Regions from separate parts of the Homo sapiens genome. Here regions 1, 3, 4 and 5 are each linked to region 2. The links are contacts of gene promoters, found by promoter capture Hi-C in blood cells and fetal thymus (Javierre and others, 2016). All regions are on one chromosome and are shown on one strand. Each heading gives the region's core, a stretch centred on a gene start or on the middle of the fragment in contact. The rest is flanking DNA. Distances are from core to core; before and after follow the strand shown. Region 1 has its middle 190 kb from the start of MYO1B-AS1. Region 2 holds the start of MYO1B (myosin IB). Region 3 has its middle 210 kb from the start of NABP1. Region 4 overlaps MYO1B (myosin IB). Region 5 has its middle 190 kb from the start of NABP1.

Region 1 (2,700 bases), core at 131-2,630, 190 kb after region 2:
CTCATCAGGGTGACAACCTGAAGTTCCTCACTTCTGGAAGAGCCGACATGTTTGAAGCCATTTCCAGTTAGAGAAAAACAAAAACACAAGCTATTGCAGGGGAGTAAAATGATGAGAAATAAAATCTACAAAAATGATACGCTTTCAGAACATGCCTAAGAAAGGCATGTCTGTATTATGCCTTTGGGGATAGATTTGGTTGCTGAGAAGTGTATTCTGAATAACACGTGGTTTCTTGGTTCTTTAAGCAGGCTATTACTTTCTCTGTTGCTTTCCTCTTGTTTTCTAGACTGTCTAATGAAATTCTTTTACAGAGGAAAATTAGAATAATATGACCAGATATGTTTTTTACAAACGAAAATGGTGACAAGTTGAAAATATTTTTTCAACGACTGGAGTTTCAACTGGAGTTTCAAGCAGTGGTGTGAGCATCTTAAGCATGTCCTTCAGCACTTGGTGTGAATGACAGCTGATAGAGGTGAGGTAGACTGGCAAACTGCTGCCTGAGTCCAAGATGGCTTTGAACCTACGCAGCTGGTGCTTTGGACCATAAAGAGAAATAATTGCATCTGCAGAGTTTTACGTGTGTTTCATTTAAGATTTGTAAGAGAGGATAGTTTACTGTTCCCTTTTAAACTCTTGGGGTTCAGCTGCCTATTATATAGACTCTTACTCCTTCTATTTCTGGCACTTTTTCAACATGGGAAGCCTTATTTGCATTTAAATGTTATATACAGCGGGGCGGGGGGGGTGGGTGGGGATGGGGAGGGGACCTTTCTTGACTTAGCAGTAGTGTTTCTAAGATTTCCATGTGCTTGTGACTGATGGATGGATATTTAAAACAATCAAATGTATTTTATTCTGTAAAACTATATATATGATAGTCTCTTGAGACTAAGCTGTTATTTAAAATAAAAAGTGTCCAAAATCCTTTGCTCCAAAGATGGTGTGTGTGTGTGCATGCCTGTGTGCATATGCACATGGGTATATATTTACAAAGAAGGAAAACAGAAAATCTCGCTATGTGCTCGTTTCCTTGAACTTTAACCTCACTTGCAAAGAGGCAGATCTCATCTGTGATGTGTCTAATCAGGAAGTACTAGAGTTATTTTTGTAACTCTTTTGCAACATAAGGCTGTGTCTTTCTGCCTTCCTTAAAAATATGTCCTGTCCCTCAAATACCATGACACTTGGGTTAAAATTTGAAAAAAGCAAAAGAATAAAATACAATTCCATGATGCCAATTTGGACTATATCCACCCTACTCATCCGAAGTCCCAGATGTCAGGCCCCGAGGGGTCACTGTTAATTCCTTCCCCACTACTGGAAAAATGTAACTTCCTTTCATGCCATGGGGAAAATTCTCCATTTCTCTTTTGCGGCATGGACTAGCATTAGCCTTTGTGGCTGTAGACCATTATGACAGATTCATGGGGAAGTAGGGTGAGAGAGATAGGAGAACTGCCCAAGCTGTGTGAACAGAACAGCAGACAAGGCAGAGCTAAGGATGGGAGTTTAAAGGACTGGAGATTACAAGTGGGAGGAAATATTCGGCAATGGCAAAAAGATTGTTCAAATTGGATGTCTTAACATACTCTTTAATTAATAAAGTGTTCAATTACATCCTTAAATTTATCCTTCCAATTAGTCTGCTAGAAAAATTATAAAAAATGATTATTTTATTATTAAATCTAAAGTTACTTATATAAATCATACAATTAACTTTTCAGAAAGAGTCAACATGGGAACTTTTTTTTTCCTTCCAACTTTTATTTTAGGTTCTGAGGGCAAATGTGCAGGTTTGTTACATGGATATTGTGTGTCACTGAGGTTTGGTGTACAGATTATTTTGTCACCTAGGTATGAGCATAGTACTGTTACCGGTGGAGTGTGTCCAGGTTCTTAGTGTCTTGAACAAAGAATTGGACAAAACGCACAAACAAAGCAAGGAAAGAATGAGCAACAAAAGCAGAGATTTATTGAAAATGAGAGGATGCTCCACACGGTAGGAGTGGACCCGAGCATAAGGGCTCAAGTGCCCTGTTACAGAATTTTCTGGGGTTTAAATACCCTCTAGAGGTTTCCACTGGTTACTTGGTGTATGCTCTATGTAAATTAAGAGGATGAAGTAAAGTTACAAAGTCATTTACTGTTGTACGCCCTACGTAAATGGAGAGGATATTTTCTGTTATAGCTGAAGTGTTTTCCATTTGACTTTGTTCTAGGAAGTCCTTATGTTCCTTGTCTCCAAACCCTATTCTGCCTCAGTACCTAATAGGTAGTTTTTCAATCCTCCTCTTCCTCCCACTCTCCCACCTCAAGGAGGCCCCAGTGTCTATTGTTCCCATCTTTATGTCCATGCGTACTCAATATTTAGCTCCCACTTAAAAGTGAGAACATGTGGTATTTGGTTTTCGGTTTCTGCGTTAGTTCTCTTAGGATAATGGCCTCCAGCTCAGTCCATGTTGCTGCAAAGGACATGATTTTGGGGTTTGTTTTGTTTTGTTTTTAATTAGCATGGGAACTTTCTAAATCATGAAACATCCTGTATATTTGGATGAAGTTGTGTGCTGTCTCCCCACACCCCACCCCCATTCCATTCCCATTGACCCACTCTGGACAGCATTGCTGCGTGCCCGGGGAGGACGTGTCCTCTCTACTTCCTTTCTCCCCACCCCTCAAAGGGGTGTTGTATGTGGC
Region 2 (2,774 bases), core at 4-2,503:
CAGTATGTGTTAGTTTCGCCCATTATCACACCACTTGTACATCTGAAGTGATGCTGATGGTGACATCAATGATGAGACAGTTCCCAGCAGATATAGTCTGTGAAGGTCCCACCTTTCCAAACTCTACTAGTGGCATTTAACAAATCCCAGCGCCTGTGGTTCTTATGCCAGTGGGAACAGTTACTATATATGGTCTGAATTCTTTGGTTCACCTCACTTTAGTGACAGTTTCCAGATACAGGTCAGTCCATTTAAACCTGGCCCATTTATGGCAATTTATTTCATTATAGGATAAAGTAGTTAGAACCATGAGTAATAATTACTGTGTCTACAGTGCTTTTAACACCTCAGCCAAGTAATCCTCATCTCACCCAGTGAGTAAGTTTGAATGCGCACCCTTCCCTGTGCGAGGATGAAGAAACCAGGACCTGGGTCAAGAGGATTGTTCTAAATTCTCCAATGAGGCAATAGGGCTTGAGTGAGAAGGTGTGTGTGTGTGTGTAGGGGGGGTGTCCTGATTCTCTGGCCCCTACATGCCTGTATAATATACCCCATCACTGATCATTACTCAGGACCTGTTAATACACTCTATTCAAATACGTATGGGTATTTGAAATTTCTTTTAAACTACCTCTCATGTATTTATAACACAAAGAATTGGCCAGTGTCTATTTCCCACAATGTGAGATTAAGTAATTTAAAAGATACTAAAAGTCTTGTAAATGAAGACACACCACACCACTCAGTATAATTTTTTTCTTTTTCTGTGAAACTAATATTTTCTGATATTCTCGGCATCCAAAAATTTTCATCTTGGGGAGGAGGAAAAATTGAGACTTACTCCCACTGTTTGCCGGAATGTGACCCCAGGCTGGCTTCGAGTTGTCAAATGTTGTATTTCTCATTTTATGTCAGTGAGTCTGGAAGCAAAAAAGGTAGAAAGACTGCCTTCCGTGGGGGCCGCGACGATCGCCCCTCCTTCCCTCAAGCCTCGTCCCATCCAGGCTCGCCCCGGGTGCGGAGGGTCGGGCCGCAAACCCGCAAGGCGCGGAGGCCGCCGCGACGCTCACCGGGGGGCGCTGTGAAGCCGGCACCGGGCGGACAGAGGTGAGTCGGCTCGGAGGCGGTGGCTCCCGTTCCTGCCCGCGCGCCGAGGGGCGAATCCCAGGCAGCGAGGTCGCCGCCCCCGCCCCTCGGCCGGCCCCTCCGCCAGCGGGCGAGAGGGGAGTGGCCGGGCTCCTCCCGCCGCCGCTGAGCACTCCGCAGCTGGGTGCGCACGGGAGCCTCAACCGCGGCGCGTGGAGGCAGTACCAGAGCGCGCGGCGCGCAGTCGGCCGGCAGCCGCGGGACAGCCTTGGCAGAACAGCCGCGGCGGGAGCCCCGCAGCCCCGGGCTGGGCCCGCGTCCCGGAGCGCCACCGGAGAGCGAGGACGACGTGGAGGCGGAGTGGCGCCCGGCGAGGTAGCGCCAGGCGAGGTAGCGCGAGCGCTTTCTCTCTCTCTCCCCTGCCCTTCCCTCTGCGTCCGTCGTCGGCCCCCGAGGCGCCTGCTCCGCGCCTTTGTGCCCGCGGTCCCTGGCCCCGTCGCACCCTGCGGGCGGGGGTCAGCGGGCTCTGCCGCTCTCTTGGGAGACGCGGCGCTGCGGCGGGAACGGCGCACGCTGTAGGTTGCGGAGGGTGGTCGTGACTCCGCAGTGGCTTCGGGGGTGGCGGGAGGGAAGAAGGGCTTGTAAACTAAGTTGCTCTTACTTTGCCCCATGCCTCTCGTACCTGTGGGCAGAGTCGAATCTCGGCTGTCCTCGTGTTCACCCACAGCCCCTCCATTCCTCTGGCCCACAGCTGTTTCCTGGCCCCCTGGAAAGACACGGTGTGGCTTCCTCCGGGCAGGAAAGCGGAGGGAGAACAATGGGGCGTCCTGGGGAGTGGGGTTCAGGTGCGGTGTGCCCCGGCGGCGGCGGGGGAGGAGGGGCCCGGGACGCTGTGGGCCTCCCTGCGCGTGCAGCTGCGCTCGCCTCCTTTGTTCCGCCGCAGCGGAGGGGGTTGCCCTGGGTCTCGTTTCCTGCCCGGGATGGGATTGATTCACGGTCCCAGAGAGGGAAGGGGAAGGGGGCGGGGCTGGAATGGAAACCAGATTAGAGACGGGAGCTACGAAGGGTGGTGGGGCCGGGAAGAGAGTTGGGGAGAGGGTTGGGAGAGGGTGATGAGAGCGCGCTGGAGAGGTAACTACAAACACACAACATTTTGTTCAAGGGCCATGTGAGTTTCTAGAGCTTATTTGTAGTGCTTTGTTCAGGCTTCGGCCCAGCGTTTATTGCTGCAACAAGTTGTGTGCTTCTTGAGTTTCTAGGCGTTCCCAATGTTAGATTGCTCAAAGCAAATCTTCTTAGTTACAGTGAAAGAAGCCCCCCCCCCTTTTTTTTTGAGATTTGAAAAAATTTTGCTATGAACTATGGTATTGGTGTGTATGTGTGTGCCTCTGGGTCTGTGTGTGTAGCTAGTGGATATTGGCTGGAATGGGTAGGAGACAAATTTTATAGAATCAATTTTGACGTAAAATTGTTTTATAGTATAATATAGTACAACAGTTTTCCAGGACTGTTTGAGGGCAGAAACCACCAGAAAATTAGACATTGCTATAAATAAATGAATCAGACTATGTAACACAATTGAAAAACCCTTTTACAGTCTGTCCCAGGAAACACACCACACACACCAGCGTTTGGGGTTTGAACTGAGGAGCCCTGGCATTGAAGTGTTCTGTGCTTTCACTCTCTGT
Region 3 (2,700 bases), core at 188-2,687, 220 kb after region 2:
ACAGTTACAATTCAGCAAAAGCTGGTTCCTAGCATTGATAGACAGCAATCTCCTAGAATTAAACGTGAGTTTAAAAGAGATTGATTTTGATATTCCCAGGGAGAAGGGCAGGCAGGCCAGCCATCCTGGGGTCTGGTCCTTCTTTGAGAAAAGCATATAAGCATACATATTTTCAGGCCCCAAAGACACCCTAAGATGTCTAGGGCTGGTAATTTACTTAATGACACCCAGGGACCTAGAAGAATTAATGTGCATTTAAATGATGAGCTTTTATGGTTTCCCCAAAGGTCATAATGTATTTGGCAGTTGAGCACCGTGATGTTGGAAACAAAGGCAATCATTTCAAGAACATCTCATTTGTATCAATGAAAATTTTTCTCTCAACTTTAATATGTTTCTTTTTGTTTAAAGGTATCTCTTATTAAAAAGGCTAGAAATCGCTTTTTTTTTCTCTGAAGGTCAAAAGTAAATGTATCTTGTTGGGACATTTTATCCCACCCGGGGTATTAGAAAAGTCATTATATATATATAAAAAATATATAATTATATATGTAATTTTATAAATTTTTAAATTGTAATATTTATTACATTTAAATTATTTATAAAATTCATAAAATTTTACATTTATAAAATTATAAATATAAATTATATATAATATACTAAACATATATAATATATTAGACATATATTATATATAATATATTAAATATAAATATCCCCAGACTCTAAGTCAATAACTTCTGTTTCCTCTAACCAATTGATTTTTTAAATTATTAGTATAATTTTTATCCAACCTGGTTGGTATCCCTAAGATATTAAACTTTTACTAAGAAAACAGGGTGGATGGTAAGAACACATAAAATCTGGCTGACTTTCAGTTTGACATTCTTTCATTAAAGATTGTTTGGTTTTACCGAGCTCTTCCACCTCGTGCCTGGGAACAGTCTCAAGCAATGGTTCACTCAACAAGAGGAGAGATGCTCTTTAGTGGGTGGAGCCCACAGCAGTGCCTAGACTCTCACTGATGAAGAGTCAAAACCTTTTTTTTTTTTTGAGACCGAGTTTCACTCTTGTTGCCAGGCTGGAGCGCAATGATGCGATCTGGGCTCACTGCAAACTCCGCCTCCCGGGTTCAAGCGATTCTCCTGCCTCAGCCTCCCGAGTAGCTGGGATTACAGGCATGAACCACCACACCCGGCTAATTTTGTATTTTTAGTAGAGACAGGGCTTCTCCATGTTGGTCAGGAGGGTCTCAAACTCCCGGCCTCAGGTGATCCGCCCGCCTTCGCCTCCCAAAGTGCTGGGATTACAGGTGTGAGCCACCGTGCCTGGCCTAAAACTTTTCTTTAAATCAAAAAATAGGCCTGTAATCCCAGCACTTTGGGAGGCCCATACAGGAGGATCACTTGAGTTCAGGAGTTCCAGACCAGCCTGGCCAACATGGTGAAACCCCATCTCTACTAAAAATAGAAAAAAAATTAGCTGGGCATGGTGGTGCATGCCTGTAATCCCAGCATCTCGGGAGGCCAAAGCAGAGGAATTGCTTGAACCCATTAGGCAGAGGTTGCAGTGAGCTGATATTGTGCCACTGCACTCCAGCCTGGGCGACAGAGCAAGAATCTGTCTGAAAAAAAAAATCAATTAATTAATTAATTAATAGTCTTACAACTTTGGGGACAAAGTTTGAGGCCTTGTTGGTCAGAGTAATTAAGTGGAGGTCGAACCAGGAATGTGGCCTCCTTGATCCACACAGCTGCAGAAGACTCTGGGAAGAAAGGCTCCTCACTTCCTGTAACTGTGGGTTGCTCCATTGGGACTTCCTGTCACAGGCTGTCCTGAAGGCTCCAAACATTCCCCCCTCCAACTTCTCCCTCCTACCAGTTTCCATCATCTTTAAACAAAAGAATACGGGAAAGTGAGCTCATTCAACTTTGATGGCAAAAAGATATTTTACAGCGGACCAACTTTTTAAATGAATTCACATCTTGAAAAATAATTTACTAAGTAATTTTAGTTAGAGCTTAAAAAATACAATGAGCTAGGAATGGAAAAGAGAGAAAGACCTTTATAAAGCCAAGATAGAAGTTTTATTGGATTCCATTCCAAAAATAGAGTTCCTGTGTACAGCTCTATGGATATGATTCAACTTACTGTGACAATGTAGGGCAAAACCAGTTAGTTTTATGTACAAACAATATTTTCCTTTTAAACTTGTCCTGATATTCCAAAAGAGGAAATTATTTTGGCATTGTGAAAGTTTGCTTTTCTGATTCCTTTGAGAATAATTTAATAGTTTCATGGTACTTTATATTTTTTAATTTTAGTGTCATCAGTGTTCATTTAATAGTACATAGAACATGTGTTGTGCTTGTTAAATAAATAAATGATCTAAGGGCCTAGAATGACAATTCCATAGCAAATTGCAATGACATAAATAAAATGCATGTGCAATTTTGTAGGCAGAACCCTTCCCACTTCCAAGTAAAGTACAAAGAAAAATTTAATGTTTTATATTGATCATATGAACCAAAAGGAAGTGTTCTGGCCCCAAAGCTCAAAGCTGTTGATGATAATGCTTTAAATTTGTGTGCATTTCACCAGTTTTAAAACAGTTTCTTCAAATATGTTATCTCATTTGATTTTCTCAGCAATTCATCATGTAGGCCTGGCAAACATTATGTGGTGAATATGGAACTTACA
Region 4 (2,821 bases), core at 261-2,760, 170 kb after region 2:
TTCTCATCTTTAAAATGGGGATAGTAAGAGTGCCTACTTCATAGCATTGTTGTAAGGATTAAGGATTAAATGAGACACTGGAGGAACAGGGCCTGTCACATAACACATAGTCACTGAATAAACAAAAGTTAACAAATATTGATCATATGTAGGGACATGTGTCTAGCTAATAATGTTACTCTCTGGCCAACCCTAAACTTAGAAAAATCCCCAAAGCTTCCCTTAGCCTGTTTACCCTACTTTGGATCTTAACTTAAAGGGGGCATATCAAATACTAGGACAGTGATTCTCAACCTCAGTGACACATGTAAACAGCTTGGGAACTTTAAAAATTCTGATGCCCAGGCCATACCCCTATGAAATCAAATTAGAATTTCTCAGAGGGGGCACAAGCATCATGTTTTTTTTTTTGTTTTGTTTTGTTTTTTTTTTGAATAAACCCAGATGATTCCCTTGCACAGCTAAGGCTGAGAGCCACTGCCCTAGGATATTTGTTGGAAGTGTTGTCATTAGGGTTTTAACCAAATCACTGAAAAGTTTTTTAATCAAGTCCTTCAGAAGAGTTGCGGGATAGGTCCATGCTCCTCAAACCTGAATGTGTAAACCCATACCTGGAGGTTGCGTTGTGGTTTCATATTCACTGGGGCTGTGGTAGGGCCTGAGATTCTGCTTTTCTAGCAAGCTCCAAGTGATGCACATGGTGCTTCTGCTGCATCCACCGACTTTAGGTAGAAGGGGATTAGGTAACCTTACTAAAGTGCTCTGAGCAAGTTGGAAGAAACACTGCTTTTGTCATTATTGTTTACCTTGGGAGAATGGATTCCAGGATCTGATGTTTTAAAGAGACTGTAAGTATGTTTTTAGCCAAGCCTGTAAATATTGACCTTCTAAGGTATCTTTAATTATGACCGACTCTTGGTTTGTCCTTGCAGGGCTCAGAAGCAGCTAGTAAAGGAGACTTTCTCTTCAGCAGTGATCACCTGATTGAAATGGCCACCAAGCTCTATCGCACAACTCTCAGCCAAACCAAACAGAAGCTCAATATTGAGATTTCCGATGAGTACGTTCATGTATTGTTTGAAAACCCTTTTTCTCTTTCAGCTTTTTTGTTTTAGTTCAGCTCTCGATCTCATTCATTAATACAACTACTTATTAAGTACCAGGTATGTGTCTAGTAGTTGTTCCACATGATAAATGGGCAGTGAATGACACTGACCAAGTCTCCAACCTCATGTACCTGACATCCTAGTGGAAGAGACCAGTATGTACAAATAAAATGATGAAATAGTTGATAAGATTTTGGCTAACAAGTGTTTATGGAGGAAAAAAAGGGTTAAGAGTCAGAGAGTAGGCCAGGCGCAGTGGCTCACGCCTGTAATCCCAGCACTTTGGGAGGCCGAGGCAGGCGAATCACGAGGTCAGGAGTTCGAGACCAGCCTGGCCAACATGGTGAAACCGTCTCTACTTAAAATACAAAAAAAATTAGCTGGGCGTGGTGGCGGGCGCATGTAATCCCAGCTACTCAAGAGGCTGAGGCAGGAGAATCTCTTGAACCCGGGAGGCGGAGATTGCAATGAGCCGAGATCGTGCCACCGCAATCCAGCCTGGGTGACAGTGTGAGACTCCGTCTCAGAAAAAAAAAAAGAGTCAGGGAGGCCTCTTTGATGTGGTGACATCTGAGACTGGTATAAATTTGAAATTTGCTTCTTCAATTTCTCATTAGGGTTCTGAATATAGAAGTTAGTTATTTGCATACAGGTTGGGGCATCCCCAGATTTATTGTATCTATCTATGTAAGTGTTTTGGAGAAATCTGAGTTACTGTGTTGATTATACTTAATTGGTTACCTTTCAATAGATTGTTTACCTGCTTATATACTTCTTTGCATGTCTAGATTGCTCAGGAAATTATATTCTTTTCTAATTAAGAATTTTCTAGTCTATTCTGTTTCAACTCTTCCTAAAAGTCTTTCTAAAATAAATTTACACCCATTTCTGCCCCTTTGTAAGTCAGACTCTCTTTGATATGTTAGGATTTTGCAGTGCTGTGGGCTTTTCTTAAGTTCTCATTGAAGTGTTTAGATTTGGGTGGGAGGTTGGGCTTCATGTATACTCTATATTGGAAATTGCTGTTCGGACTAAATAACTTTTCTTGTTAATGAGATCTTTCTCATAAAGAAATTAGGAAAAAAATAATGGTTGGTGTGTTTCAGTTAAGGATTTAACACGTTAGGGCCTATTAGAGCTTTAAAATCCCTTTATAATAGTTGAAGTTTTTCATAATCTGGGAGAATGGGCTTTGGTGGGGCTGCTAATTCTCACTCACCATGGGAAGATCGTATGTATCCCAGACAGCAGAAGCTCCTCAGTGTACAGACGAAGCAGTCTCATAGTTGTCCCACTATGTGAATAAACTCATCTTTACACAGAAAGGAAATCACACCAACATCCAGACCACAAAGTACTGCTATTTTTAAGCATTTCCCAAACCGGGATTCTAGGAACATTGCTTGTACAGGATGCTAATAACGATGTACTGTGAAAAAATTGTTCTCTGATGGAAATTTAAAATCTTTCTTCACTACATTACATCTCAGAGTCCCTGAAATCTTGTTGTGATTCTCCTGAGGAGCTTTGCGGGGATAGCGTGTGGCGTGAATCCTAAACATAGTCAACCACAGAGCTCCTTCAGCAGCTCTCACAGCTTGTGTTCGAAGGTGTGCCATCTGGGAAAGGGGGACAGTTCGCTTCTGGGCAGCAAGGGCCCTGCCCTGTCACAGAGGGCGTGTGATGTTCTGGATGCCATAAGCTTTCAGTAAACA
Region 5 (2,700 bases), core at 19-2,518, 240 kb after region 2:
AATAAGACTAAGATGTACAATAGGCAAGACAGAGTGATGCACATGTGGACAACACTCTTTGAGAAAGATTACTCTGGCAGCTTTGTGAAAAACAGACTGGGTTAAGGATGGCTTACGAAAAAAAGGCCAACTGGGAAACTGCTGCTGTATCCTTAGAACAAAGAGTAAGGGCCTAAACTAGCAAAGGAGCCCTGGGAGAGAAAGGAAGTATTGGAAAGACTCAGTACAAGGAAGAAGCATAACTTCCTGGCAGCTTATTTTGGGAATAGCAGGAAAGGCAAAGAACAAGAATAACACATTATGATAGTACATGTTGCCAAACTAGAGAGTGGAGGAAGATGATAGAAATACTAGTAATGAGGATAATTAATTGCAGCTTATATTTATCAAATGTTTCCTGAATTATGACATCAGAGTTCTAAGAGCTTCACAAATATTAACTCACTTAATCTTCCCTTTGATTTTGTGACGTAGATCTCAACATTTTACCAATGAGGAAACAGGCACAAAAAGCTCCAGTTACTTACCTAGAGTCACCTGTGATGTAAGTTAGTGAGTAATTGAGCTGAGGTTCACTCCCCAGAGCCTGAACCCTTCTGCTTCTCAAGATATAAAAGATATGGCTCAAGGGCCAGGGAACAGTTGTCCCCAGATCAACTTTCCAAATTTATCTTTACCCCAGGTGCCCACCACTATGATCATAATTAACTTCTTGCTATTTCCACACTTACTACATCCTTTTCCTTCTCTTACTGAAATAGCCTCAGCTTGCTTGCCCACCTCATAGTAATAATAATAGCCAGCATTTATTGAGCATTAATTATGGGCTGTCACAGTTTTATGTGCTTGATGTGTATGCACTAATTAATCTTCATGACAACATTATAAGATGGGTATTACTAGTAGTAATAGTAGTATTCTCATCCATTAGAAGGCAAGCTATAGGGAAAAGGAATATTTATCTGTTTTATTCACCATAATGCTGTGTGGTATATTGTAATGGTCAGCAAAGATTTTTCAAATGAATGAACTTTACAGATGTGGAAACTGAGGCACAGTTGGCCTAAAATGACACAATTAATAAAGAGTAGGGCCCTGCTTGGGCCAGACTCTGGCTTCATAGCCTGTGTAGTATCACTAACTCATACCAACTCAGCCCTTAACACCAGCACAAATGTCACCTCTCCTGGGAAATTGGAAGGAAAATGGATACTCTGAGAAAACCTTCCCACTCCTCTCCATTTCCCTTGGGATGTCTTGGATGAAGACATCTTTAATATCTTGCTGTGTCTTTAAATCCCATACAGCACCCTTGTGGTTTTCCTCACTTCTCTTTGGCCCTCACTCTCATTCTTTTTGGTGCTTCGATCCTCTCAGGCACTAATTTTGGATTCCCAGGATCATGCTCCCACCCTCAGCCTTGCCCTTTATCTCCCTTGGCCAAATTTTAGTAATAACGCTGTCCATGCAGCCACTTCCCTCCATTCCCCGGGGCCCATTGTGCTTGCTCTGCAGAAGATACCACTTGGGTTTCCATTTCTATCCAATCCCCAAAGCTCTTTTTATAGTCTGCAAATTGTGTTGCTTCTTCTCGGGCTTTGAAATTAGGGAGTGTAGGCTGACCTGGTTCTAGTACTTTGAAAGTAGGGCTGGCACCACCTCCTTGATTTATCATGTGGTAGCAACAGGGAGGGGACCATCAGTGAATACTTATTAGACATCTAGTAGTACAGCAAGGAGCTAAGGTGAGCATACCTGTGGGGGTGAAGGACTGCCCTTAGAGGTTTGCTGATATTGCAAAGCCTTGTTGCTTTGAACCCATACCTTAACATTTAGCAAAGGGAAAATGCCAAAAGGACAAGTAGCCTCAGCAGACTTCCCAGATAAAAGTAGATTGTATCAATGACTGTATTCTGTTCAGCACTGCATTCACTAGACTTAATGGACCATGAGGAGCTCTGGATCCAACAACTGATAATAATAGCTAAAATCAAAAATCTAGATGTTTCCAGTTGGAGAATTAGGAATTCATTTCTAGAGCCATGAGCTTATGAGGAAATACTATGTGATATTTCATAAATCACATATACTATTTTCTCTTTGGGAAGAAACCAGTTCCTAGGAAGCTAGGTATGGAAGGCAAATTGCCTTTCAAGGTCTCGTGTCAATTCCTGGCTTTAATGGGCTTGTGACTCATAACCACAGAGACTTCAGTCTAGGCCCACGCAGCAGCTTGGAGCTGGGAATGGAGGTTATTACTGCAGATGACTAAACAGCATCCAGCTGAGGTAGCAGAATCTGGTGCTGCTAATGAGAAAAGATGACTACTGCCTTTTCTTTTCCACATACCAGAGGTTTTCTCTGGTGGAGTTTCATTTTCTGCATGAAATGGCAGACTCGCCTCCCCAGACATAAAGTTGCCACAGATGTAGAATTATATAATGTTCAAACTAGAAAGTTCCCTAGAAATCATCTCCTCCATCTTCTCAACTTGTATATAGGGAAACTGAGGCAGAGAGACCAGGTAACACTTGATTTTACATAATTTCCTAATTAAGGCCTGGATTGTGTTTCTGAATCCAGCGTTTTTGCCATGGAAGCTACAAGAGTGTCTCCATGGGCCTTCTGGTAGTCTGAAGTAGCGTAATTGGAGAGGACAGAATATTATTTTGTGATTGACACTGTATTGACACTCCTTTT

Evidence for each region. Contacts are between HindIII fragments. The CHiCAGO score rates a contact against its expected background, and 5 or more counts as called.
Region 1: a fragment that was not itself captured here is called in contact with the fragment with the promoter of MYO1B in region 2 in 1 of 17 cell types (M0 macrophages); the score reaches 5.0 in M0 macrophages.
Region 3: a fragment that was not itself captured here is called in contact with the fragment with the promoter of MYO1B in region 2 in 4 of 17 cell types (M1 macrophages, endothelial precursors, M2 macrophages and 1 more); the score reaches 7.0 in M1 macrophages.
Region 4: a fragment that was not itself captured here is called in contact with the fragment with the promoter of MYO1B in region 2 in 1 of 17 cell types (endothelial precursors); the score reaches 6.0 in endothelial precursors.
Region 5: a contact is called between a fragment that was not itself captured here and the fragment with the promoter of MYO1B in region 2, in 5 of 17 cell types (M2 macrophages, M1 macrophages, M0 macrophages and 2 more). The highest score is 10.0, in M2 macrophages.

What each region holds. Positions count from the first base shown.
Region 1 is chr2:191,435,479-191,438,178 of GRCh38, forward strand. No RefSeq gene overlaps it. Among named protein-coding and RNA genes, the nearest start is that of MYO1B-AS1, 190 kb to the left of the region's middle. The HindIII fragment of the contact is 3,771 bases long and covers 1-2,700 here.
Region 2 is chr2:191,244,151-191,246,924 of GRCh38, forward strand. It overlaps MYO1B (myosin IB), which reads left to right and starts at 1,254. Exons shown (of 31, transcript NM_001130158.3): 1 at 1,254-1,476. MYO1B-AS1 (MYO1B antisense RNA 1) reads right to left here and starts at 2,025. Exons shown (of 4, transcript NR_186085.1): 1 at 1,769-2,025. RefSeq lists an enhancer at 1,140-1,762 and a silencer at 1,175-1,564. The HindIII fragment of the contact is 11,846 bases long and covers 1-2,774 here.
Region 3 is chr2:191,464,117-191,466,816 of GRCh38, forward strand. No RefSeq gene overlaps it. Among named protein-coding and RNA genes, the nearest start is that of NABP1, 210 kb to the right of the region's middle. The HindIII fragment of the contact is 9,484 bases long and covers 1-2,700 here.
Region 4 is chr2:191,415,183-191,418,003 of GRCh38, forward strand. It overlaps MYO1B (myosin IB), which reads left to right. Exons shown (of 31, transcript NM_001130158.3): 30 at 933-1,060. Among named protein-coding and RNA genes, the nearest start is that of MYO1B-AS1, 170 kb to the left of the region's middle. The HindIII fragment of the contact is 2,592 bases long and covers 215-2,806 here.
Region 5 is chr2:191,484,879-191,487,578 of GRCh38, forward strand. No RefSeq gene overlaps it. Among named protein-coding and RNA genes, the nearest start is that of NABP1, 190 kb to the right of the region's middle. The HindIII fragment of the contact is 6,496 bases long and covers 1-2,700 here.